Linked DNA regions of Homo sapiens: all the other regions are linked to region 4. The links are contacts of gene promoters, found by promoter capture Hi-C in blood cells and fetal thymus (Javierre and others, 2016). All regions are on one chromosome and are shown on one strand. The core of a region is centred on a gene start or on the middle of the fragment in contact, and the rest is flanking DNA. Distances in the headings are between cores, read along the strand shown.

What was found. Contacts are between HindIII fragments. The CHiCAGO score rates a contact against its expected background, and 5 or more counts as called.
Region 1: the fragment with the promoter of CSNK1A1 here is called in contact with the fragment with the promoter of LARS1 in region 4 in 1 of 17 cell types (naive CD8 T cells); the score reaches 6.2 in naive CD8 T cells.
Region 2: a contact is called between the fragment with the promoter of DIAPH1 here and the fragment with the promoter of LARS1 in region 4, in 2 of 17 cell types (total B cells and activated CD4 T cells). The highest score is 6.7, in total B cells.
Region 3: a contact is called between the fragment with the promoter of TCOF1 here and the fragment with the promoter of LARS1 in region 4, in 1 of 17 cell types (naive CD8 T cells). The highest score is 5.2, in naive CD8 T cells.
Region 5: a contact is called between the fragment with the promoter of DIAPH1-AS1 here and the fragment with the promoter of LARS1 in region 4, in 1 of 17 cell types (total CD8 T cells). The highest score is 7.0, in total CD8 T cells.

Annotation. Positions count from the first base shown.
Region 1 is chr5:149,548,263-149,552,722 of GRCh38, forward strand. CSNK1A1 (casein kinase 1 alpha 1) reads right to left here and starts at 3,177. Exons shown (of 10, transcript NM_001892.6): 1 at 2,580-3,177; 2 at 1,813-1,919. The coding sequence starts at 2,702. It also overlaps a transcript of ARHGEF37 not described here. RefSeq lists enhancers at 1,239-2,438, 2,685-2,744, 2,875-2,934, 2,965-3,634, 3,334-4,127 and 4 more. The HindIII fragment of the contact is 4,606 bases long and covers 1-3,493 here.
Region 2 is chr5:141,616,877-141,621,454 of GRCh38, forward strand. DIAPH1 (diaphanous related formin 1) reads right to left here and starts at 2,124. Exons shown (of 28, transcript NM_005219.5): 1 at 1,922-2,124. The coding sequence starts at 2,038. It overlaps HDAC3 (histone deacetylase 3), which reads right to left. Exons shown (of 15, transcript NM_003883.4): 15 at 4,005-4,578. RefSeq lists silencers at 1,702-1,898, 1,709-1,758, 1,819-2,478. The HindIII fragment of the contact is 3,913 bases long and covers 993-4,578 here.
Region 3 is chr5:150,354,998-150,359,894 of GRCh38, forward strand. It overlaps TCOF1 (treacle ribosome biogenesis factor 1), which reads left to right and starts at 2,700. Exons shown (of 27, transcript NM_001371623.1): 1 at 2,700-2,857. The coding sequence starts at 2,750. LOC105378226 (a long non-coding RNA gene) reads right to left here and starts at 2,423. Exons shown (of 4, transcript XR_944407.3): 1 at 1,509-2,423; 2 at 571-673; 3 at 1-166. RefSeq lists an enhancer at 1,718-1,887 and silencers at 2,488-2,827, 2,908-3,127. The HindIII fragment of the contact is 5,465 bases long and covers 35-4,897 here.
Region 4 is chr5:146,180,375-146,185,447 of GRCh38, forward strand. It overlaps LARS1 (leucyl-tRNA synthetase 1), which reads right to left and starts at 2,276. Exons shown (of 32, transcript NM_020117.11): 1 at 2,114-2,276. The coding sequence starts at 2,119. RefSeq lists enhancers at 1,800-1,959, 2,868-3,714 and a silencer at 4,892-5,073. The HindIII fragment of the contact is 6,101 bases long and covers 269-5,073 here.
Region 5 is chr5:141,555,451-141,560,054 of GRCh38, forward strand. DIAPH1-AS1 (DIAPH1 antisense RNA 1) reads left to right here and starts at 2,861. Exons shown (of 3, transcript NR_038333.1): 1 at 2,861-3,037. The region is part of intron 18 of DIAPH1 (diaphanous related formin 1); the gene reads right to left. RefSeq lists enhancers at 1,839-2,691, 2,452-2,746. The HindIII fragment of the contact is 6,603 bases long and covers 947-4,604 here.

The DNA of each region.
Region 1 (4,460 bases), core at 1,927-4,426, 3.4 Mb after region 4:
GGAATAGAAAAAGGGGCTAACAGGCTGGGCCCGGTGGCTCACGCCTATAATCCCAGCACTTTGGGAGGCTGAGGCAGGTGGATCACCTGAGGTCAGGAGGTGGAGACCAGCCTGGCCAACACGGCAAAACCTCAGCTCTACTAAAAATACAAAAATTAGCCAGGCGTAGTAGTGCAGCTCTGCAATTCCAGCTACTTGGGAGGCTGAGGCAGGAGGATCACTTGAACCTGGGAGGCGGAGGCTGCAGTTAGCCAAGGTTGCGCCACTGCACTCTAGCCTGGGCAACAGAGTAAGGCTCCGTTTCAAAAGAAAAAAAAGCCGGGCACAGTGGCTCATGCCTGTAATCCCAGCACTTTGGGAGGCCGAGGCAGGCAGATCACCTGAGGTCAGGAGTTCGAGCCCAGCCTGGCCAACGTGGTGAAACTAAAATACAAAAATTAGCTAGGCGTGGTGGCGGGCGCCTGTAATCCCAGCTACTCAGGAGGCTGAGGCACGAGAATCACTTGAACCCGGGAGGCAGAGGTTGCAGTGAGCCAAGATCGTGCCATTCATTGCACTCCAGCCTGGACCACAAGAGCGAAAACTCCGTCTTAAAGAAGAGGCTCCAGTAAACAGTAAGTACCATTCTTACCTATTCTGAATAATTTTGCAAATGTTATTTTAGATTATTGCTGGAAAATAGCTGGGCTTTAAACTATATTTTAGTCTCCATTCCATGAAGAGGATCTTTAATCCCAAAAGTTAAAACATTAAAACCCTCCAAAGTAAAGTTAACCATTTGACAGAACAATGTCTATCTCGTCATCTTTTATCCTCGTTACTGCTATTTGCACTCACCAATATTCCACACCAACAAAGGCCCCAATTTCTCTGATGTGAAGATTTACTGACAAACTCAACAGGTTAAAATTACTTATCAAAGTGTGGCTAAGTGATTAAGATTTTTTTAAATACAACTGATATGAGTAAATTTTAACATAGTTGGTGCTGCTCAAACTGCCTTTGCCACTACCTATACAAATTTAGTCCCGACTGAAACGTGCCAAATATGACCATTCACGAAAAGAAAGAGTAATTAACACTTTTAAAAGAACTACGAAGGATTTTACATAGTGTAATTCAACAATTTCGTGTCACATCTGCTGCAGAGATCACAAACACTGTCACTATGCCATCTCCTTCCTCGAACCTCCACACCGCCTCCTGCAGCTTTATTCTTGGCTTTTCAAAGGTTTAATCCACTCGGGGCTGCTAAAGGAGGAATCAAGGAAGCATAATTTGTGAACTCAAGCTGAGAAAAGGGCAGGAATATGGGGTTGAGTCACGTCGTTCCGCCATTTTCTAAGCGGAGGAGGAAGACATGTTGGAACAAAAACACAACAAAAGAGCAGCCATTTCCCAAGCCAGCTCCAATAGCAACTCGAACTGACACTGCCGGGTCGCTTCGGCACCTTCAAATCCACTTCACTGGACAAACCTAAGTACATCAGAAGTGCCGCCGTAAAAAAGGCAGCAGCCAACCCTTCCGCGTAGGGATCAAAGATGACCTGCACGCATAACTGCAAATGAAAGCCTCGGGAAGAGTGAGAATGACGGAAGCGAAATGGAGCAGTGTAATACAATGAAATAAGTTGGCAAACTGAAATTTACTCAGTAATTGAGATGACTGACTTACAGGAAACCACCAGCTATAGGGAACCCAGGTAACTAAAACACCAAGACCCGGATTCAGCTGGTCTCATTACCTGCCTCTACCCACTTCCCCATTCCGTGCTTCCCTCAGCGGATCGCCTATATGCACCGGGTTCTTACCGTATGTGGGGGATGCCAACCCCACCTTGAAGAATCTTATAGAGCTTGCTCTCGTACAGCAACTGGGGATGCCTGGCCTTCTGAGATTCTAGCTTCACTGCCACTTCCTGCAGGGGAAAGAGGGGATGATGGCATCAACATCCCTACGGATTCAATGTCACTTAGGAAAGGAGGGAGACATTAGCAAAACTCCAAGTCGCGACTACAAGAAGAAGTGAAAAGCTGGAAAGAGAAAGCTCTCGGTAATTATAAAACGAGGCAACCAGCCTCAAAGGCCTCTTCAGGGGGTAGTGACGAAATCCGTACGTCCTCTAAAGTGCAGGAAAATGATTCATCCAGAAAAAAGAGGCAACCTCTGAACGTAGTGAGAGGTTTTTAAGGAACTAGGCGATCGGAAACTGTTCTAATTGGAACAAGAGGCCCAGTAGAATTAAGAATTAAAAAAAAAAAAACATGGGAATCACTGAAAGAGGATTTTGCCGTTTCCACCTTAAAAGACGGTTAAAAAAAAAAAAAGCTCGACTAAGGGACATTTATGGGACGTGTTTAACAAGGTGGGAAACTAGTTCCCCCAACCTTTCTATCGGGTTCTTGACCCTTTTAGGGAGACAGCGGACGAGGTTCGTAAGCCAGGAAAACTAGCTCCCTGGACTCCCTGGCGAGTGCGTGCGATGAGGAGAGGCCCGAGCACTTTGGGGGTGCACGGTGGTGGTGGGGGGAATGAGTAAAAGCGCAGCGTTATCGTGAACCCCACCCCAGATGATTACCTCGCCGTTGGTGATGTTGATCGCCAAATAGATGTCCCCGAAGGAGCCAGACCCGATCTTCCGTACCAGTTTATATTTCCCTCCGACAATGAATTCAGCCTTGGAGCCGCTGCTACTCGCCATCCTGAGAGACGAAGATGGAGGCTGGGGCCAAGCCCCGACACCTCTGGGAAGAGGACGGAGGCCTCGGGGCTCCTACACTAGGCAAGGCTACGGAGGAGGGCGGCAGGAAACGGAACACGGAGGCCTTTACCGGGGTTCGGGGCCCAGAATCAGCAGAGGGGAACCTGATCACCGCCGCTCAGTCAGGTTTCTTTTTGCCAGGCCGCAGTTTGTGAAGGGCTTCTCGGCGGTTACCAGGCTGGGCCACTTGTTTCTCGGCGGCCGCCGCTGCCTCGCTTGCGCGGCGACGTCGCGGGCTGGAAAAGGGGCGCGGTGAGCTAGGGCGGCGATACCGCTGCCACCACTGCCGCCGGCTCCGGCCCAGAGGGACCCCTGTCACTCCGCGGACGACGCCATCTTGTTACTCCAGCTCCAGCCAACACAAAATGCCCCCAGTCCCCGGGAGCCGCTTCTTCACGGCGCAGAGCACTCTGGGAAAGGGATCTCGGGCGCTCGCTCCGAAGGATCGGCAGCGAGAGGGCGGAACCGGATCCGTGAGAGTCGCGGCCCACGCTCCGAGCGTCACCCTGTCACCGCCCAGCTGCGCATGAGCGCTGCAACTCCTGCTGACTGCGCAGGCGTGCCGCGGCCTGTCCTCACCCCCGTCCCGGGCTCTCTTCCACTTCCGGTCGGCGGCGGCTCAGCAGGTGTTACCTGTTACTCGCCTCGGACCCGCCGGGTCTCTGGAAGGCTGAGTGGCCCCCCGGCCTTGATATTGGGAGGAGTCACCTTCATGTTTCGTGGCAGATGAAAGCTTAAGGCCTCCTTAGGAGTTGGGTATTGACCTGTGCTCTTTGAGGCGGTTTTTAACCTTTGATCTTTCTTCTGGCCGTTCCCCCGGACCGGCCTATTCCAACCCAGTTTCTGTTTGGAAAGAGGCTGTCGCCTCTGGTGGAGAGGAAGAGAAAAGCAGCCAGCGTCGAGGAATCTCTCAGGGCTCTCGGTTGTAGCAGAGCCTAGCTAATTACCCTTCATAATTAGAATTGTCCTATCTACTACGGAGTGTTATAGACCCTCTTTCCACAGGAGGGGAAGAAAGAAAGAAGCCGGAATCCCCCTGCCATCCTATGTCTTTGCATTATTGCCTCACTACCACATATGATCTTCAGAAGAAAACCTGGTATGTTGCTCATAATGAAGATTAAGGATAGATGGAATCAACAGAAAATTAATTTAACAAGAGTGAAAAAACTGTTATGTCCCCTCAACCCCACCAAAAAAAAAAAAAAAAAAAAAAAAAAGAATCGTATGTTGGTCTTGTTGAAAACCTCAGTATTAACCTGAACAGAGTAGAGGTAACTATTACAAAATTTAATTGACAACATTTAAAACTACACGGTAATTTTTTTCTTTTTTACAAAAAATCGATCAGAGAATCAAATTTTGACCACGTTTTGTTTTACAAAATTTGACCTGGGAAAATTGGGCTTAGTAATAATAATGTTCACGAAAGAAAACTCCATGGTTGATGCTATCATCTTAAGTCAGACCTCAGTCGTAAAAATTTAAGCTAAGCCTATCCTAAATAAAATTTAATTAAAATAGAAATGGGGGGCGGGCGCAGTGGCTCACGCCTGTAATCCCAGCACTTCGGGAGGCCGGGGCGGGCAGATCACTTGAGGTCAGTTGTTCGAGACCAGCCTGGCCAACATGATGAAACCCCGTATCTACTAAAAATACAAAAATTAGCCGGGTGTGATGGCGCACACTTGTAACCCC
Region 2 (4,578 bases), core at 874-3,373, 4.6 Mb before region 4:
TTAAACATATAGAAGACTTCATGGACATTCCAAAAGACAGGTGAAAAGGGGTTGAGCTTCCTCAGGTTTCTCACCTTACAGTACCACACACATAGTAGACTTCACAAGTTCGTGAAATAATTGTTAGATAAAATAGAGTACATATAAAATTCTACTCAAGACATGAAAACAAGTCACTGAGGTCACCACAAGTCAGCAGCAATAGCTGGAATTTGGGTGAGGAAGGTCAAACAGTACTCATGGAAATAAAATCAAAACAAAAAGATACAGAAATAGAAGGAATATGAGCCCTAGAACTTAAGTTTTGGAAGGAAAGCTAACGGGGGGGAGGGGTCAATTCTTATCCTAAAGAAACATACAAAAATGCTGCTTTAGTCACCAAAGAAGGAGGGGGTGTCAATACCCTTAACCTTATATTTCTAGGGGGGGAAAAAAAGATGTTCACCAGATAAAAACAGATGGTTACTGACATCTCAGATATCACTGGAAAGGGCAGTCCAGGAGCACTTGGTCTTGCTAGAAATAGGAAGAGATGAGTCACTATTTTAATTCTATTTAGAATTAAACATCTAACCCTCCAGGGTTAACATCTCAACCCTCTAGGTCATAAAACAACATTTTCTTCCTGTTTCCATCGCTTTATCAGTTTTCTTCCCAAATTTGTGGAGCTGGGTCAAAATGTTGGGAGGTGGGACTAAGAGTTACAAGCCATTTGTTTAGTAGAAAGATACACTAGTGTAAGGGCATAAATACCTGGAAGAGAAGACAAAAGAGCTACAGTTATAACTAGCTATTATAATGATCATCAATATCCAAGACTTTTCCTCTCCTGGACAGTGCCCCGTATCTTACAAAGCTTTTATAGCAAAAAAGCAACCAAACGGCTCCCTGGAGAGAGGCGTTGGTGTGGGCAAAAGGTAATGAAATATGATAGGGTTACATGTATATCACTATTCCTTCACTCGGATTGAAAGTAACTGGCACTTGAGGAAAGCTTACTCTTCTACAGGCACGCAAAGGGAAGCCGATAGTCGCCTTGGGGCACAAGAGGCAGTAGAAAAGGAGTAGAGGAGACGGTTATCATGGGAAATGTATAAAAAACAATTCAATTACAAACTTCTTGAACTCGCAGTCCAACTTTCTTCCCACAGGAGAGGTTTATCACCATCCTAGGTCAAGAAGGGCACAATCATGAGAGTTCTAATCCTCTGAAAAGTGATAAGCAACAGGGCAAAGAGAGAGGTTCTCTGGAGAGAGGAATACTGGTAAACAAATAAACGTCATGCCCCAGTGACCATAGGACCTGGGCAGGAGCCCATTCCTGTAATCGCAAGGACAAACGTCCAAAGAAGGAGTTGGGGGTAGGGCTCAAGTCAGGTAACATTCCTCAGGGGAAGGATTATCAAGTGACACCGGGCGGAGGGCCCACGGGGGACTGGGCGGGAGGAAAGTTAGCAGGTAAAAAGGATGAATCATGGAGAAGGAAGTGACCTTTAGGAGAAGGAAATACGAGAATACCAAAAAAGGTGTAAGGTTAAGAAGAGAAAATGGACCCAGAAGAGGGGACCAAAAAAGAGGAGGCGTGTTCGGGTACTGGAGGAAGAAGAAAGGAAGTGAGGCTGAGAGGGGAGAGACGGGGCTGAGAGCCGGCCGGGGATATGCGGGCGGGAGGGCAGAATGTAAGGGCTGGGGAACGAGGGAAGCCCCGAGGTGGCCGGGGCAAGAGCCGGGTGGGATTCCGGGGCTTCCCGAGGTCCCGAAGGGAGAGGATGTCGGGCTGCAGAGCTGCGGACCGAGCGAAACGAGGAAGGAAGGCGCGGGGGCGGCTCCCCAAAGCCGGGCAGGCGCCCCAGGGGCCGGCTGCAGGGGTCCAGAGGGCGGTTACGGGGCCAGGCAGGAGCGGGATGGGAGGGACACTCACAAATTTCTTAGATTTGCCGCCGTCGCCGCCCGCCGAGGGCAGCTCATCTGGGCTCCGGCCCTTCTTCTTGTCCCGGGTCCCGCGGCCGGGCCCCAGGCTCCCGCCGGGCGGCTCCATGTCCCGGTTCACGCTGGCCGGCGACCCCGCGCCTACGCCGCTCCCGCCTGGCAGCTCCGCGCCCGCCGCCGCCCAGTCGCTCTTTAGCCAGCCGCCGCGCCCCGCCTCATTAGCATGCCGGGCTGCGCGCGCCTCATGAATATACAACGACGACGCCTCGCTCCCGCCCGCCTGCCCCACTTCCGCCCGGACCCGCAGCCCCTACCAATGGGGGAAGGGAGAGGGGCGGAGGGAAGCCGCGGAAGCGCGCTACCTGCCCAGCGGACCTAACCATTCGGACCCACGTGGGGGGGGGTGGTGAGTGGGCGGTGCAGCTCTCCGCGGCCGCGGCGGAGAGCACCGCCCCCTGGCGGTTGGAGCAGCGCAGGCCTCTGGCTCCCACGCAGCGCCCACGTGGCTGTACAGCCTGACAGCCTGGACCCTCTCACATCCCAGACCAAAAATCGCGTGAGACCATTATCCTGGCAGAAAATTAGTGACAGGTTTTCCAAGAGAATGCAGTTTTCAATGTGTGCAATACCCATGGAACACATGAAAAAAATTATAGTGATAGCCACCATGTTTTGAAAGCAAGGTAGCAAGAACAGAGCTCGGTCCAGGGCAAGCACTAGACTAAACCAGACTCGCTCTGGAGTTTAATTTCCTAGTTCGAATTCCAGGTTAGGTACCATCTAATTGTTTCTAATCAGGACAAACTAATTATTGCCAACATGTGCCTAAACAGCAATAACAGTTACCACTTAACCATGCCCTTTGCTCTCTGCTAGGCACTAGGCAAACACTCTACATGTATTTTTCTAAGTCCCCACAGTCCCATGTGATAGATTCTGCTAGCCTCACCATTTTATAAATAGTAAATTTGGACTTTTGAGAGTTGAAGTGACTTGCCCAAGAACGCATAATTGATATAAAATTTAAACCCAGCTTAGTCTGATTTGCTGCCAAACCCTATGTTTAACCAGGATTCCCCACTGACATAAACCAAACATGAGTGAAAAGAATGAGTATTCTCCAAGAGTATATTCTTTGCTCTTCTAGCATGACTTTCTCCCTAAGCAATTTCATCCATTCTCCCAGCTACATCTGTCCCTTGTGTGACAGTTACGTGGCTACCAGTCGGCCTTCACAATATGGACTGAATATTCTTGACCACAGCTAGCAAGATTTCAAGCATAAGTTCCTGAAGGGCAGAGTCAGTGACTTACTTACTCTAGAGCCCCAGTACCTAGTCAAGGGCCTGAGATATACCAGGGACTCTGCCAAGCTGGCTGGCTCCTAAATTTGGCATTCATCTCTCTTGTGGTCCAGACCTTCTGATGGTGATCGGATAGAATGTTACATAGAGCTGTCCATCCCATACTTCAAACTTGACTTAGTGCTGAGCTTTCCAGACATTTTGTCTAAAAAGTCCAAAAGCTACTTTCTAAGCTAGTGTTGAGAACAGACAGAATCAGAGAATGGAGGGGAGGAAGTGACCCATCTATCAGTCCTCTTTCTTGTATCAGTCTGTATCTGCTACAATATTTATCATACTACTGACTGGAATGTAAACTCTTCTAGAGAAAGGTTCATGTTTGTGGCTACTACAGTATTTAGCATTGTTCTTCACATAGACAGATAATGGGCAACTTCTTCTGTCAGGCACTGTGCTAAGCACTTAACATGTTTTATCTCAGTGTATCTTCACCAACTAGCATCACTACTCTAAACACCCAGATTCAAAAACCTGAAGTCATCTTCTACTCCTCTCAAATCTGCCCAGGTTTGTCTAACTCTTAACCAAAATCCTCTATTAACTTCTTATATTTACAATAATAAATGTAGAATACATACACAGGGCCTAACGTAGGATAAGTGCTGAATGAATGTTAACTATGCTTTTATTACATGCATCATCATGCCCATTTCCCTCTCCTTTCATAAATAGGAAACTAGCAAGAATTAACATTCCTAGAAAGGCGAAAGGTACAAAAAATACCGACTTAGTTTATTGGATAAAAACAGTGGTAAAATGGACATAAAGCCAAAAGTGAGAACAGAACATTTTCATATCCTCCCCACACTTGAAAACATACTTCCCATCATCTGGGATTCAGGTGTTAGGGAGCCAGAGCCCCTTCCAAATCTCTCTCTCTTCATCTTCCCTGGAAGCAAGGGGAGGAAGAAGTCAGAACCCAGGGGAGGAGGAAGTCAGAGGCAATCTCAGTCCTTGTCTACCCGTTCATCCCTCAAAAATCTCTGGGTTCGAGGGAAGCAGGGAAGAAATAAGGGGCAAGGGGGGCTAGGGACTGGCCTCCAGGGCCCACTGCCAATAATGTCCCAGATAGCTATCCTTGTCTGTATCTCATCCCTAATAGGTACCATTGTCAGGCCTTGGGAGAGAGAGGAAAAGCAGGTAGATGGTTCGAGAACCAAATGTGGTCTCCAGACTCTTTCCCAGAGTCAGCAAAAGCCCTGGGGTGACCCCCAGGACTCTAGGAGCCACTCCTTTTCCCTCCAGCCCAACCAAGAGGTGAAAAGAAATTCCTTGGGACACAGCA
Region 3 (4,897 bases), core at 1,450-3,949, 4.2 Mb after region 4:
CTCTCTTCTCTCTCCACATTCTTCTCCCTGGGTAAGCTTCTCCTCATCCACAGCCGCAATTATCATCTGTCTATCGACAACTTCTCATCTTCATCTCTAGCCCAGACCTCCACGCCACGTCCAAACCCAGGTTTCCAAGAACCTTCTCAACATCTGCATGTGGTGACTGTAAGGCATTTCAAGCTCAAGATGTCTAACATAGAATATATACTTTCACCTCTCTGTCCACATCCTCCTCTCCTCAATCAAACCACCCCCCTGTCTCAGTCCTCTTCTAGTTTTTTCTATCTCAGTGAAAAATACTGCCTACTTGTTTGCACAGAAACCTCAAGGTCCATTCTGACATTGCCTTTTCCTTCCCCTCCCATTCCAACACACCTCTGTGAAAACTTTAGTTCCTGATTAACTCTGGGAACCTTCCACTCTCTTCAACTCCACTGCCACCAGCACCCTCCCCGCTGCCCCCGCCACCTACCACCCGCCCCCCCCCCCCACATACACTGTCTTCTCCCTGGATGCCTGCCTGCACTCCTAACCCTGACTTGTCTTCCCACATCTACTCATACCCACCAGACACACTCCACTCTCCACTGGGCAGGCACACAGGTCACAGTAAAATTCAGATTTCATCCTGTACCTCTTGGGCTTACACCGTCAGTGGCTTCCAATGGCTCTTAGGATGGAGGAAAAAAAACCCTGATGTGGCCAATCCTTCACATGGAGTCTGCCCTCTGCCCACCTTCTACACTCCCCAGTCCCCCTGCTCTCCCTCCGGACTATGCTACAAAGGCCTTTTTGTGTCTATTCTCTCAGCTGTACCTTCTGCCCTAGGCCCTTTGCACAGGTTCTTCCCTCTGCTCAGGTTTCTTCTCTCTGACTCTCCCTTACACACAGTTCTGGTTTCCTCATAACCATTAATTTCTCAGGGAATCCTTCCCTAACTCCCAAGAAAAAAATAGATCCCTCCTTCCTGTTATATGCTTTCACAATAATAGCACACACGCACACAGAGAGCGCTATTGTTCAGAGCTCCTCTAAGCATTTCTGCTGAGAATTCATTTACTCCTTATGACAACCCAGTGAGGTAGAAATTATAATTATCTCCATTGTACAGATAAAGAAACTGAGTCACAGTGACTTGCCCAAAGTCACCTAGTTAATGAGGCAAAGCCAGAATTTGAACCCAGGCAGTGTGACTCCAGTGCAGCTTTTAAACACTATATTATTACATAAGAAAACACTATCCTTTTCCTTCCTGCACTTACCCGCTGTTTGTAACACTGTATTGTATGACTATTAGTTTAGTATGTGTCTCCTCCGTTAGACTGTAAGCTCTATTGGAGTAGAGACAATTCCATCACTAGACTGTAAGCTCTATAGGAGTAGAGACTATTCCATCCCCAATGGTAGGTACTCAATAAATATTTGCTCAAGAAAATGGGAAATGTTGAATGTGTACAGACACATAACATTTTCCATTCAAGTTCAAGACAAAGATAACCACATACCTGGACCTCCTAGGGTTAGGGACTCCTGCGCCCGTAAGAAACATGCTGCCCTCAGATTCTCAATGGGTCGGTGAAGTTAAGAACAGCTCACTCTAACATTCTCCAGCCTACCTCACCTTTTCCCTGCCATCCTTCCCTCAACAACTACAACAGCCTCACATTTAGTATTAATGGTATGTGCTTTGGTTTTAGCAATCTTTTAAAAACACAAAACAGGGTCAACCTCCTCGGAAAAGCCAGTCAGAGACTATCTAATGCCCTCAGAGCAAAGTCCAAACTCTGTTGGGGGTGGGGGAGTTGTAGGCCTTGTCTACTTCTTCATCCTCATGTGCCCTCATTTGTTCCCTCTTCCCCACCTCACCCCACCCCACCTGGACAGCCCAGCAGCGCAGACTAGGGGTTCTGGGTTTAGGGTTCCCAGGCAATAGCAGGGTGTTTTCTCATGCCTAGACTCATGCAGTGCCCTCTGCCAGTCCTCTCCTTTGCACCCAGCAATTTCGGGTGTCTTTATGCCTCAGCTTAGATATCTCTCTGGGGTTCGGTGCTCCTCCTTGGGGCGCCCATAGGCTGCATCTGTCCCTGACAAGGCACACAAGATATTGAACTATAGTTGCTTGGTTACGGACAGTCGTCTCTGTGAGCTTTGAGGGCAACTGCCATGTATTATGCATCTTTTGAATCCCCCTAGCCTAGCCGGGTGCTAGCCCAAGTTAGGTGCTTATTACAGATTTGTTCAGTTAGCGAATGAATCAATGAATAAACTGGCAATTCGTGTCTGGTTCATGGGCACCAAAAACCGTGCGAAATGGATAAATGAGCAGGTAATGGCAGTACAAAGTTCGGATCTAGAGAAAGATCCAGATTAGGGAGTTCAGAGATGAGTAAAACGCAGACCCAGCCATCAGAGAATTAACAAGGAAGATAAATCTCTTCAAGAAGCCAGCCGGAAGGATTAAAAGAGAGTCGTCCAAGTCCCGGCCGGCCCCGGGGGCGGGTCCCTGTCTAGCCCCGCATGCTCCGCGCCAATGGGCGGTATTGTTGATCACGAGTCTCCGCCCCCTTCGCCTTGAGGGGCGGGGCCGGCCACTCCCGGAGAGGGGACTACGTTTCCCGGCGCGCCGCGCGGCCGGAGCGAAAGAGGAGCCGGAAGTGTGGCGCGCGAGGTCTAAGGGCGCGAGGGAAGTGGCGGGCGGGGACTAAGGCGGGGCGTGCAGGTAGCCGGCCGGCCGGGGGTCGCGGGTATGGCCGAGGCCAGGAAGCGGCGGGAGCTACTTCCCCTGATCTACCACCATCTGCTGCGGGCTGGCTATGTGCGTGCGGCGCGGGAAGTGAAGGAGCAGAGCGGCCAGGTAAGCGTTCGTGGGCCGTGTGCGAGGGCCGCGTGCAAGATGTGGAGATCAGCGGCCCGCGGCCCGCGCCCCGTCCCCAGGCGACCCGGCAGGCGCCCGGAGCCGGGTCCCGCAGTGCTCGACGGCGCGGCCAGGGGTACCGGAGGAGCCGCAATCTCTGCCTTCCCACTGCGACTTCAGTTCCCCTGGGCCTCACTTTCCTCATCCGGGCAGTGGGTTGGGCCAGAAAGTGTGCTCGCAGGGGCCGAACTTTGTAATTCCCGCTTCCCTTACCTCCACGCCCTTCCTGGTAGCGGGTATTTTAAGTTTCCTAAGTCTCCCGCCACGTGGCTAGGCTCTGCGCGGCCCCCCCTGGGGCAAGGAGGTTGCTGCGAGTCTCGGGGGTGGATTGCGACCAGCCCCTCGGGGGAGCGCCTGGAAAAGGGACCCTACAGCCTCTTAGTTGAGCTGGAACTCAGGCCTTTAGCGATTGTCTGTACTGAGACGGTCAGCTTTGGTACTCGAACTCGTGGTACAGTCATTTCTTACTTGATTAATTCAACTGTTAATCCGGTACTCAGGGTGCTTCCTGGTGTTCGAATGGTGAGCACCATCTCTCAGCCCTCCTGGAGCTTACACTCTAGTAAGGTAGACAAATCAAAGAATCACAAAAGTGACTATATGCTTAGCACCGCAATAAGTGTTAAGAATGAGAGGGATGGGCCGGGCACGGTAGCTCACGCCTGTAATCCCAGCACTTAGGGAGGCCGAGACTAGCGGATCACCTGAGGTCAGAAGTTCGAGACCAGCCTGGCCAACATGGTGAAACACCGTTTCTACTAAAAATACAAAAATTAGCTGGGCATGTTGGCGCACGCCTGTAATCCTGGCTACTCATGTGGCTGAGGCACAAGAATTGCTTGAACCCGGGAGGCAGAGGTTGCAATGAGTCAAGATCGTGCCACTGCACTCCAGCCTGGGCGATAAAGCGAGACTCTGCCTCAAAAAAAAAAGAGAGATGGATGGCAGATTGCCCTGGTCAGGAATAGCTGAGGTGTAAATGCCTTGTGGTGGGAGGGAACTTGTGTACACACTGGCCTGGAGAAAGTCCACTCTCTTGAGCCCAGGAATTTGAGGATACAGTATGAGCCATGATCATGCCACTGCACTCCAGCCTGGGCAACAGAGCAAGACACTGTCTCAAAAAAAAATTTTTTTTAAGTCCATAGCAGGCCAGGTACGGTAGCTCACGCCTGTAATCCCAGCACTTTGGGAGGCCGAGGCAGGCGGATCACTTGAGGCCAGGAGTTCAAAACCAGCCTGACCGACATGGTGAAACCCTGTCTCTACTAAAAATGCAAAAATTAGCCATGCATGGTGGCATGCACCTGTAGTCCCAGTTACTCGGGAGGCTGAGTCAGGAGAATCACTTGAACCCAGGAGGCAGAGGTTGCACTGAGCTGAGACTGAGCCACTGCACTCCATCCTGGGTGACAAGGCGAGACTCCATCTCAAAAAAAAAAAAAACGTCCATAGTGGCTGAAGTGTGAAGTACAAGGGCCAGATGCCCCTGGGGAGATGGAGGCAGGGGCTGGCTGGAGTGGTCTGGTGGGCAGTTTGATCTTCCTTGGAAGAGCAGTGGTAAACCAATGGAGAGTTTTGAACTGGTGAGACAGTATCCTAAGTAGTCAGATCCCTTTGCCCTGTGGTGTAGGCTCTGCTCCTAATGCTTGCTCTCAGAACCTCCTGGAGGGACTAAAGGGTGATGGGCCCTAAGACGTTATGTATGCTTTTCCCAGTTTCTCTGAACCTCACTTGCTCTTCCTACCGCAGCTATGGTACTTCACAGATAAGGGGAGCAAGAGATAGTACCCATCTTCATTGGAGCAAAATATCCTGCCGTCATGGAGCACACATTCTAGTAGGAGCAGACAGGTGACAAATAGAAAAAGTTTAATAAGTTAATGATATAGTATATCCAATGATAGTTGGTGCTTGCTATAAAAGGCAGGCAAGGGGGATAAGGGATGTCAGACTTCGATTATAAGTAGGGTAGTCAAG
Region 4 (5,073 bases), core at 1,026-3,525:
AATACAAAAATTAGCAGCGCATGGTGGCGCACACCTGTAGTCCCAGCTACACAGGAAGCTGAAGTGGGAGAATCACTTGAACTTGGGAGGCACCACTGCACTCCAGCCTGGGAAAGAATGAGACTCCATTTCAAAAAAAAAATAAAAATAAAAATAAAAAATATGATCATGTCACCCATTGTAAAGAAGACTATGAAAGCAAGTCTTTTACAAATTACTTAGAACTATGTGTTTCTTTTCATTGTACTGAGTATGCCAAATGCAAGAAAGCTTTTATTTGAGTTTTCTGTTTCTCAGAAAAACTTGTTTCTCAAAACCTCAAAGATCAAGTATAATAAAATCTGATATTGGCCCAAACACCAACTTGTTGTATAACCTTGAGCAAGTCATTTGATCAATCTGAGACTCAACCTCCTCACTGGTAACAAAAGGCTATATAACTAAATCAGAGTTCCTAAACTTTGGCACTACTTACACTTTGGGCCAAATAATTCTTTGTTTTCAGGGGTTGTCCTGTGCACTGCAGGATGTTTAGAAGCATCCCTGGCTTCTACCCGGGATCCCTGCTTTTCACTTACACTGTTGCCCCTGCCTGGAAATCTCTTTCTTCCTATAGTTGCATAGGTTGCTCTCTTACCTCGTTTTTGCCACCTTTTTGGCAAAGCCTTGCTTGATCATCCTTTTAAAAATTGCAACAGGCCAGGCGCCATGGCTCACGCCTGTAATCCCAGCACTTTGGGAGGCCGAGGCGGGCAGATCACGAGGTCAGGAAATTGAGTCCATCCTGGCCAATGTGGTGAAACCCTGTCTCTACTAAAATACAAAAAATTTAACTGGGCATGGTGGCGCGCGCCTGTAGTCCCAGCTACTCGGGAAGTTGAGGCAGGGGAACCGCTTGAACCTGGGAGGAGGAGGTTGCAGTGAGCCGAGATCGCGCCGCTGCACTCCAGCCTGGCGACAGGGCAAGGCTCCGTCTCAAGAAAAAAACAAACAAACAAACAAAAAACAAAAAAAAATAAAACCAGGCGGGATGGCTCATGCCTGTAGTCCCAGCACTTTCGGAGGCTGAGACAGAAGGATCGCTTGACCCCAGGAGTTCGAAACCCTGTCTCTACTAAAAATACAAAAAATTAGCAGGGTGTAATGGAGCACGCTTGCAGTACCAGCTGTGGGGAGGCTGAGGTGTGAGGATCGCTTGAGCCCTAAGGTCCAGGCTGCAGTGAGCCATGATCACGCCACTGCATTCCAGTCTGGGTCACAGAGTGAGAACATCTCCCAAATTTAAAAAAATTTTTAAAAATTGCAACTGTACTACCCCACCGTACACTCCCTAGCACCCCTTCCTGCTCTATTTTTTCCCCACAGCATTTATCAGCACCTGACACAATATTTTACAATGTATTTTACCCACACACATAAACACTATGAAAAGAGAGATTTTTGTCTGTTTTACGGAGAGGCGCTCAATTTTTTCTTTTTTTTTTTTTTTTTTTTTTTTTTTTTTTGCTGTAAGTAGGAATCAACTTACATACTCCTCTCTCCACCTCGGCTTTATTTGTTTGTTTATTTATTTATTTTATTTTTAAGACGGAGTCTCACTCTGTCGCCCAGGCTGGAGTGCAGTGGCGCGATCCTGGCTCACAGCAGCCTCCCTCTCCCGGGTTCAAGCAATTCTCCTGCCTCAGCCTCCCGAGTAGCTGGGTTAACAGGCGCGCACCACTACGCCCGGCTAATTTATGTATTTTTGGTAGAAACGGGGTCTCACCATGTTGGCCAGGGTGGTCTCGAACTCCTGACCTCAAATGATCCACCCGCCTCGGCCTCCCAAAGTGCTGGGATTACAGCCGTGGGCCACCGTGCCCGGCTCTCCACCTCGATTTTAGAAACTCCAGAGAAATAACAAATATGATATCCAAGTACTCCGTAAAGTTAACAGACATCAGTTCGTGGTTCATAAACTAGCAAGAAAAAGCAAAGTCTCTACGAAAGGCACGCCTTAAGCGTGGCTCTCTTTTAGAAAAGGACTTTCCCTTCAGGACAGCACATGGAGAGCCCCTAGAGACTGGCCAGTCCGGCTCCAGGGCCCCTGCGGATTCTTCTCGCTCAAACTCACCGCCATTGCACCGCCCAGCCGACTGTGCAAATCCACGACAATGACCCTGGCGACCTCCACAAAGGAGTGGTTACCTTTCCCCTCCCTCTCGGGGATGCCAGGCCTCCCACGAAACTAAAGCACACGCTTCACACCTGCTGAGGCAATCATCCGGCTCCTTACTAACTACAGCCAAGGCATCTCACAGCCCGCCGGGAATTGTAGTTCCCAGACCACCCGAGCAGACACCCAGCAGGCGCTAACTGACTACAATTCCCAGAGAAAAACGGGTTATCGGAAGTCTACCCGATAGGCCCACTCAGAGGGGAACCGGCAGTGACGTCACTGGCATGTTGAACTACAAAGTCCATGATGCAGTGCGGGATCGCAGAATGCCGCGAGTGCGCCCTGGTTAGGTTGGAGTCCCTTGGCCATCAACCTTTTCACCCGGTAGAGCTGGTTGCCTGTCGGGATGCCAGGATACGCAGTTAATTACTATACGGTGACTGAGGTGCTACTTATGGCTTGCCACTATGCACAGATATTTTTTACTGTCAGTGGCATTCAACAGCCCAGCATTTAGACATTGTATAACCGCGTATTGACAATCTCCTTTTTTTTTTTTGAGACGCAGTATCGCTCTGTCGCCCAGGCTGGAGTGCAGTGGCGCGATCTTGGCTCAGTGCAACCTCGGCCTGCCGGATTCAAGCAATTCTCCTGCCTCAGGCTCCCGAGGAGCTGGGACTATGGGCGCGCGCCACCACACCGACTAATTTTTTGTATTTTTGGTAGAGACTGGGTTTCACCTTGTTAGCCAGGATGATCCCGATTTCCTGACCTCGTGATCTGCCTCCCTCGGCCTCCCAAAGTGCTAGGATTACAGGCGTGAGCTACCGTACCTAGCCAACAATCTCCTTTTTTTTTTTTTTTTTTTTTTTTTTTTTTGAGAGGGAGTTTCGTTCTGTCTCCAGGCTGGAGTGCAGTGGCGCGGTTTCGGCTCACTGCAACCTCCGCCTCCCGGGTTCAAGCGATTCTTCTGCCCCAGCCTCCTTAGTAGCTGGGACTACAGGCGCGCGCCACCGCGCCCAGCTAATTTTTGTATTTTCAGTAGAAACGGGGTTTCACCATATTGGCCAGGATGGTCTCGATCTCCTGAACTCGTGATCCGCCCGCCCCAGCCTCCCAAAGTGATGGGATTACAGGCGTGAGCCACCGTGCCCGGCCAACAATCTCCATTTTTAAGCAAGAGACTGAAAGCCTACCTGGTCCCATTGCCTGACTCAGACTATTTAGACCACTACCAAACAGGGCCAGGGGCGGTGGCCATAATCCCATTATTTTGGGATGCCGAGGTGGGCGGATGACCTGAGGTCAGGAGTTTGAGACCAGCCTGGCCAACATGGTGAAACCCCGTCTCTACTAAAAATACGAAAATTAGCTGGGTATGGTGGCGTGCACCTGTAGTCCCGGCTACTCGGGAGGCTGAGGCAGGAAAATTGCTTGAACCCAGGAGGCAGAGGGTGCACTGAGTCGAGATCGCACCACTGCACTCTATCTTGGGCGGCAGAGCGAGACTTCATCTCAAGGGAAAAAAAAAGACTGGTCGGGTACGGTGTCTCACACCTGTAATCCCAGCACTTTGGGAGGCCGAGGCAGGTGGATCACGAGGTCAGAGGTTCGAGACCAGGCTGGCCAAGATGGTGAAACCCCGTCTCTACTAAAAATACAAAAATTAGCCAGGCGTGGTGTCACGCGCCTGTAATACCAGCTGCTGGGAAGCTGAGACAGGAGAATCACTTGAACCCGGGAGGTGGAAATTGCAGTAAGCCAAGATGGCAGCACTGCACTCCAGCCTGGGCGACAGAGCAAGACTCCGTCTCAAAAACAAAACAAAAAAAAGACTATGCTACCATACAGAGATATATGGTGTCTGATACAGTAGCCACTAGCCACATGTGGCAATTTAAATTCAAATTAATTAAAAATAAATAAAATTTAAAATTCATTTCTTGCCGGGCACAGTGGCTCATTCCTGTAATCCCAGAATTTTGGGAGGCTGAGGCAGGAGAATCACTCGAACCCAGGAGGCAGAGGTCGCAGTGAGCTGAGATCATGCCATTACACTCCAGCCTGGGAGACAGAGTGAGACTCCATCTCAAAAAACAACAACAACAACAACAACAAACACAAATGGCCGGGCGCCGTGGCTCACGCCTGTAATCCTAGCACTTTGGGAGGCCTAAGTGGGCGGATTGCCTGAGCTCAGGAGTTCGACACCAGCCTGGGCAACACGGTGAAATCCTACCTCTACTGGAAATACAAAAAAAAAAAAAAAAATTAGCGGGGCTTAGCAGCATGTGCCTGTAGTCTCAGCTACTCAGGAGGCTGAGGCAGGAGAATTGCTTGAACCCGGAAGGCAGAGGTTTCAGTGAGCCGAGATCACACCACTGTACTCCAGCCTGGGTGACAGAGTGAGACTCCAGCTCCAAAAAAAAAAAAAAAAAAACCACAGATTAGTTACTCACGTGATAATTTATTAACCCAGTAAACATTAAGCATCTACAATGCACTTTAAGGGATTGGGGACCCTTTAAGGGGATGGGGAACGCAGCCCAGATGTGTGTCTACCTAAGGGTTTAAGGGAAGGGAATACACACACACACAAACACATACACACAGAACTTTTTTTTTTTTTTTACATTTTTCAACAACTAGTTTTGAAATACAAATTCAACGATGTCCTAAAACAATACTTGGCATATGATATGGGGTCAATACAAATTTGTTGGATGAAAGGAAAAAGTTAAGAAGGAACCTTAGGCTACCAGTCGCTCTCCTGCCTCTAGGCTGCCTCCCTCACTTTCCATACCCTCTTCCTTTAGCTACCAACCATTTAGTCATCACTTCCTGACAGCCCAAGTCTGAGTTAAATGCTCCCCACTAGATGTTCCCTGAAGCACCCCTTGCCTTGGAAATTTCAT
Region 5 (4,604 bases), core at 1,611-4,110, 4.6 Mb before region 4:
CTGCCTTCCCAGCCTTCTTACAGGAATGGTGCACTAATTAATCATCCAGATACTAAAGCACCTAATATACAACCTTATCAATGCTTGGGTTCCAGCCCCCATTTTCATAAGAGCAAAGATGAGAAGTCCAGAACAAAGGCCTCATGCTGTCCCTCACCCTAAAAACAACATCAAGGGCTGAGTAATTTCAGTTTACAGAATTGTGTGAAATAAGGGACCAAAATAGGTGGGTATAGATAGCACCTTAGCACAAAGGAAAAGAGGAAAATTTTTTCTGCAAAGGCTGTGACTCTCAACAAACAATAGTAGAAAAGAGAGACCCTTACACCTAGCTATGTGGTTAAAAAGTGGCCGTGCCAGGATCCGTATTTCTAGCTGCTGCAATCCTGACCTATTCAGCAGATTCTAAACCTTTTGCTAGTGGGAACTATAGTTTCCAAACTAGACATGGGGCCAATCTAGTCTCCACAGACCAGACTCTACGAGTGTCCTGCCAGCCTTGCCAAGAAGCCAGACCCTGCTAATTCCCTTCTATCACCTGTGCCCTTCCCTTGGGCAAGGGAATAGACTGCTTGCTGTGGCTGCTGAAAGTCAGAGTCACTGACCCATTTCAGAAGTGGGAGAAGAATATTAAGCAAGAACTTTCATCTGATCATTTGCATCTAAGTCAGTCTCAGGGAGTATCTCCAAAAAGGTCAAGGGAAGGACTAGCGATATTATAATCCTGAAGCCATAAAGGACTTTTCACCACATCCCCCCCGGCCCCAACACAGTATTATATTTTTTCTTTCTGTAAAAGTCCATGAAGTGCTGTTAATTCATTGAGTCTTACCAGGGAGAAAGCTGCTACTTAAGTAAAAAAAGTATTCGGGAAAAAAAAAGCTGATACTCTAGAATCACCATAGGGATGCAGCTATTACACAGTGGCCAAACACAGTTGTCCCAAAGCTTAAAAGCTCTCCTTTAATTCTTAGAACGGGTGAGGCCCACTTCTATGACCATGTTCTCCGTTGACGGCAGTGTGCAAACTTTTCTCAAGACTTTGGGTAACAGATTATCACGTCAGGAGAAAAGTAAGAGTCCAGCCCTTTCTCCCTCTGAAGGTGGCAGGGCATTGCTCCTTCACTTGGTCACCAATAGCCTCTGTGGGAAATCCTAAAGAAGAGGCTCTGCTCTGGCAAGAAGGGAAGTCTGGCTTTGTATCTTCTCAGTCCCAACCTGAGAGATCTTCTTTTTATTTATTTATTTATTTATTTTTTGAAATGGAGTCTCACTCTGTCACCCAGGCTTGAGTGCAGTGGTGCAATCTTGGCTCACCACAACCTCCGCCTCCCGGGTTCAAGCAATTCTCCTGCCTCAGCCTCCCGAGTAGCTGGAATTACAGGCATGCGCCACCAGGCGGCCCGGCTAATTTTTGTATTTTTAGTAGAGACGAGGTTTCGCCATATTGGCCAGGCTGGTCTCAAACTCCCAACCTCACGTGATCCGCCCGCCTCGGCCTCCCAAAGTGCTGGGATTACAGGCGTGAGTCACCGCGCCTGGCAGAGATCTTTTTAAAAGAAATTAAGTCTATAAATAAATTGCAAAATAAAAAATAAAAAAGAGCATAAGAGAGAACCTATAGAGACATCAACCAACTGCAATGTGTAGACTTTATTTGGCTCTGATTCAAATGAACTATTAAAAAAAACAACTATCATAAGATAATTTGGGAAATTTAATACTAACTGGCTATCTGATGATAAAGAATTTTTTAAATGTGATAATGGTAGTAATTATCTTCTTTTAAAAGTCCTAATTTTTTTGACACACATTCTGAACTGCTTAAGGATTAAATAATATGAACAAGGATACATGTAAAAATAATGGGTGGCAAAGACAAAGTTGATACAGGTATATGAAACAAGACTAGCTGTTGATTAAGTTTTTTAAATGGGTGATGGACATAGGGGTGTTCATACTAGTCTCTTTACATATATGTGTGTATGTGTGCGTGCATTTTTTTCACGGTTTCAAAAATAACATTTTTTAAAAAAATTCAGGACCATTTCCCTAGAGTCCTTGGGGCATTTGATTCTTCCCAGACAGCTAAGTGAAAGGGGTTCCTTTTTTTCTTCTTTTTTTGGGGGTATCTTTTCTTATCTGATCCTATAATTAAGAAAACTGCCCTAAACATCTCTGTAGCAAAAACACCTAAACCCAGGATTAGAGTCTAGATGAGGCAGAGGGGATGCCCTGGCCTGCTGCCTCAAAAGCTAGCACTCTGTCACTGTTAGTAGGTGTCCGGCAGCCAAACCATTTTGCTCTGTGCTCCGCTGGCAAGGACTTGCGGCATCGATTGCTCAGGATGCAGGCAGCCTGCAGCAAGGTGTGTCCCTGATGAGCAACTGCTGAGTAAAAGAGTACGTAGCTGCGCCTCAGCCAGTCTCCCTCCCTCTGCAAACCAGACTCCTCCTTTGCCTAACTCCTTTTTTTATTCCTGCGTCACAAATACAAAATGGAGTTAGCTGGGAGCAAAAACAATCTGTCTAAAATGGCTGAATGCGGTGGGGAGTGCCAGACAGTAAAGCGAAGGGAAAGGGCACCCCCTGGCGGCCAAGATAGGGAGTCTGTTTTATGTTCTTCACTACTTTTGCATTTCAAACGAATCAGTCCTACAGAGTCCAAGTTAATTTTGTCACAAATCTTGATGTTGAGCTCTAAAATTCAACTAATAGAAACTGAGGCACAAGAAGGGAAAATAATTTTCAGTCTCTAAAGACAAAGGGCACAAGTCAACAGCCCTGAGTTGCAGTTACTGCTTGGTTATGATCAGTAATAGTTTCTAGGAGACAACAGAACGGAAGGGAGGTCCTTTTATAGTACATGATTCCCCAGCTTCAATAATGGACTAATGACCCCCGGAATCCCACCGCTATAGCCTGCACTTCCCCAGGAATTCCTGTTTAAGGCGTCTCTCAATGAAGACCACAAACAGGAAATGGAGGAGTGGGGAGTTGCCTGACATCCTGGAAACTACGTTCTTAAAGAACTGCAGGTGGGAGTAAGTGGGATAGAAAAATGGGCTTTTCAAAAACTGTTGAGAACACGGACTGAGTCAGTTGTATCCGCACGGCTGGAAGACAGGCAGCTCCACCTAACCTCACTCACTTACTCAGGACCAAAACCCTACTTGCTCTGCCCAAGATAAAGCCTGCAGCATTTGTACCTATTCTACAGGGAACACCCTCCATTATCTTTATCTTACGCTACACCTCCCTTGAGTAAGCCAAGTACCTATGACTAAAAAAGAACATGTAAGAAAGGTGGAAAAAACAGAAATTATCTGGAAAAACTTGTGGGTACAAGTCATTAATGGTTGCCACTACTTAAATGAGGCTGCACAAATACGCCAGTTTATCCAACGTCCCTAAAGTGAGATAATGGCAACACATACAACACAGGTGCACAAAAATCACAAGTTGTTAAAAAAAAAAAAAAAAAGACTCTGGCATCACTATAGTTTTCTCTGAAGAAATAGGGTCTTTGTGGAAGAATCTTAGATCTCTCAGGCATATATGAAAGATCAGAACACTTAATAATCTCTCCAGGAAATAACTTTCTGTGAGGGTAACATAGCTATGGAATTGCCAAGTTCACCTAGCATACAATAAGCCATGTCTATTAAGCACTACATCAACTCTCTAATTCTGGGAAGAGGAGACAGTAAGAGGGTCTTAATGTTAATATAAGTGTTAATATAAGAAGCTGCCCAAATGGAGGACTTCTGATTTATATTCTTCATGGTTGTAATATACATAAGGGATAAATTCAGCACTTTAAAACAATCACTAAGGTATACATTATAGAAGGAAAAAATATCATGCCAACCGAATAGCAGTTATCCCTGCCCAAAGGTAACCGTATCACTGATACCTTGGCCAAAATATACAACTATCTGCAAAATCCCACAGAACTAGACCATTACAGATGTGCAAGCTGTAAGGAGGGACAGGGCAAACTGGCATTAATGAACAAACCTAAAGGACAAGAACAAAGCCACACAGAATCCCAAAGGAAGAACCAGATGCTGAGAGTTATAAAGAAGGGGACAGATATAAGTCTGGAAGGGTAGCAGAAAAGCAGTATTAAAAATCTGGGCACTTCACCAAGCATTTGGTCTTTCAGATAATATAGTCATTGAGTTTCCCACAGATACTTTCCCAGCACACCCAGGATGGTGACTCAATTAGGGAGTGCTAAAAAGAGGTCTGCTTCTAGGATGTGGGTGGGGAAGGACTGGAAGGACAGGCACTATCCCAAACAAGGACTCAGGTATGTCAGCAAAGAGGACAGGTTTATGCAAGGAAACAATAGGCTAGAGGGCAGAAGAAAAGGCATTAAAATAAGGTACTAGAAATAAAACTCTTTTCCTGGATTAAAAAATGTTTTATTATGGGAAAAATTAAACATTCAAAAACACAATTATTAATCCCCATGCATACATCACTCAGTTTCAACAGTTATCCACTCGTGACCAATTCTGTTTCATCTACACCCCACTTCTAAATCCCATAATGATCCGCAATTATTTCTGTACACATCTCTAAAAGATGATGACTTTT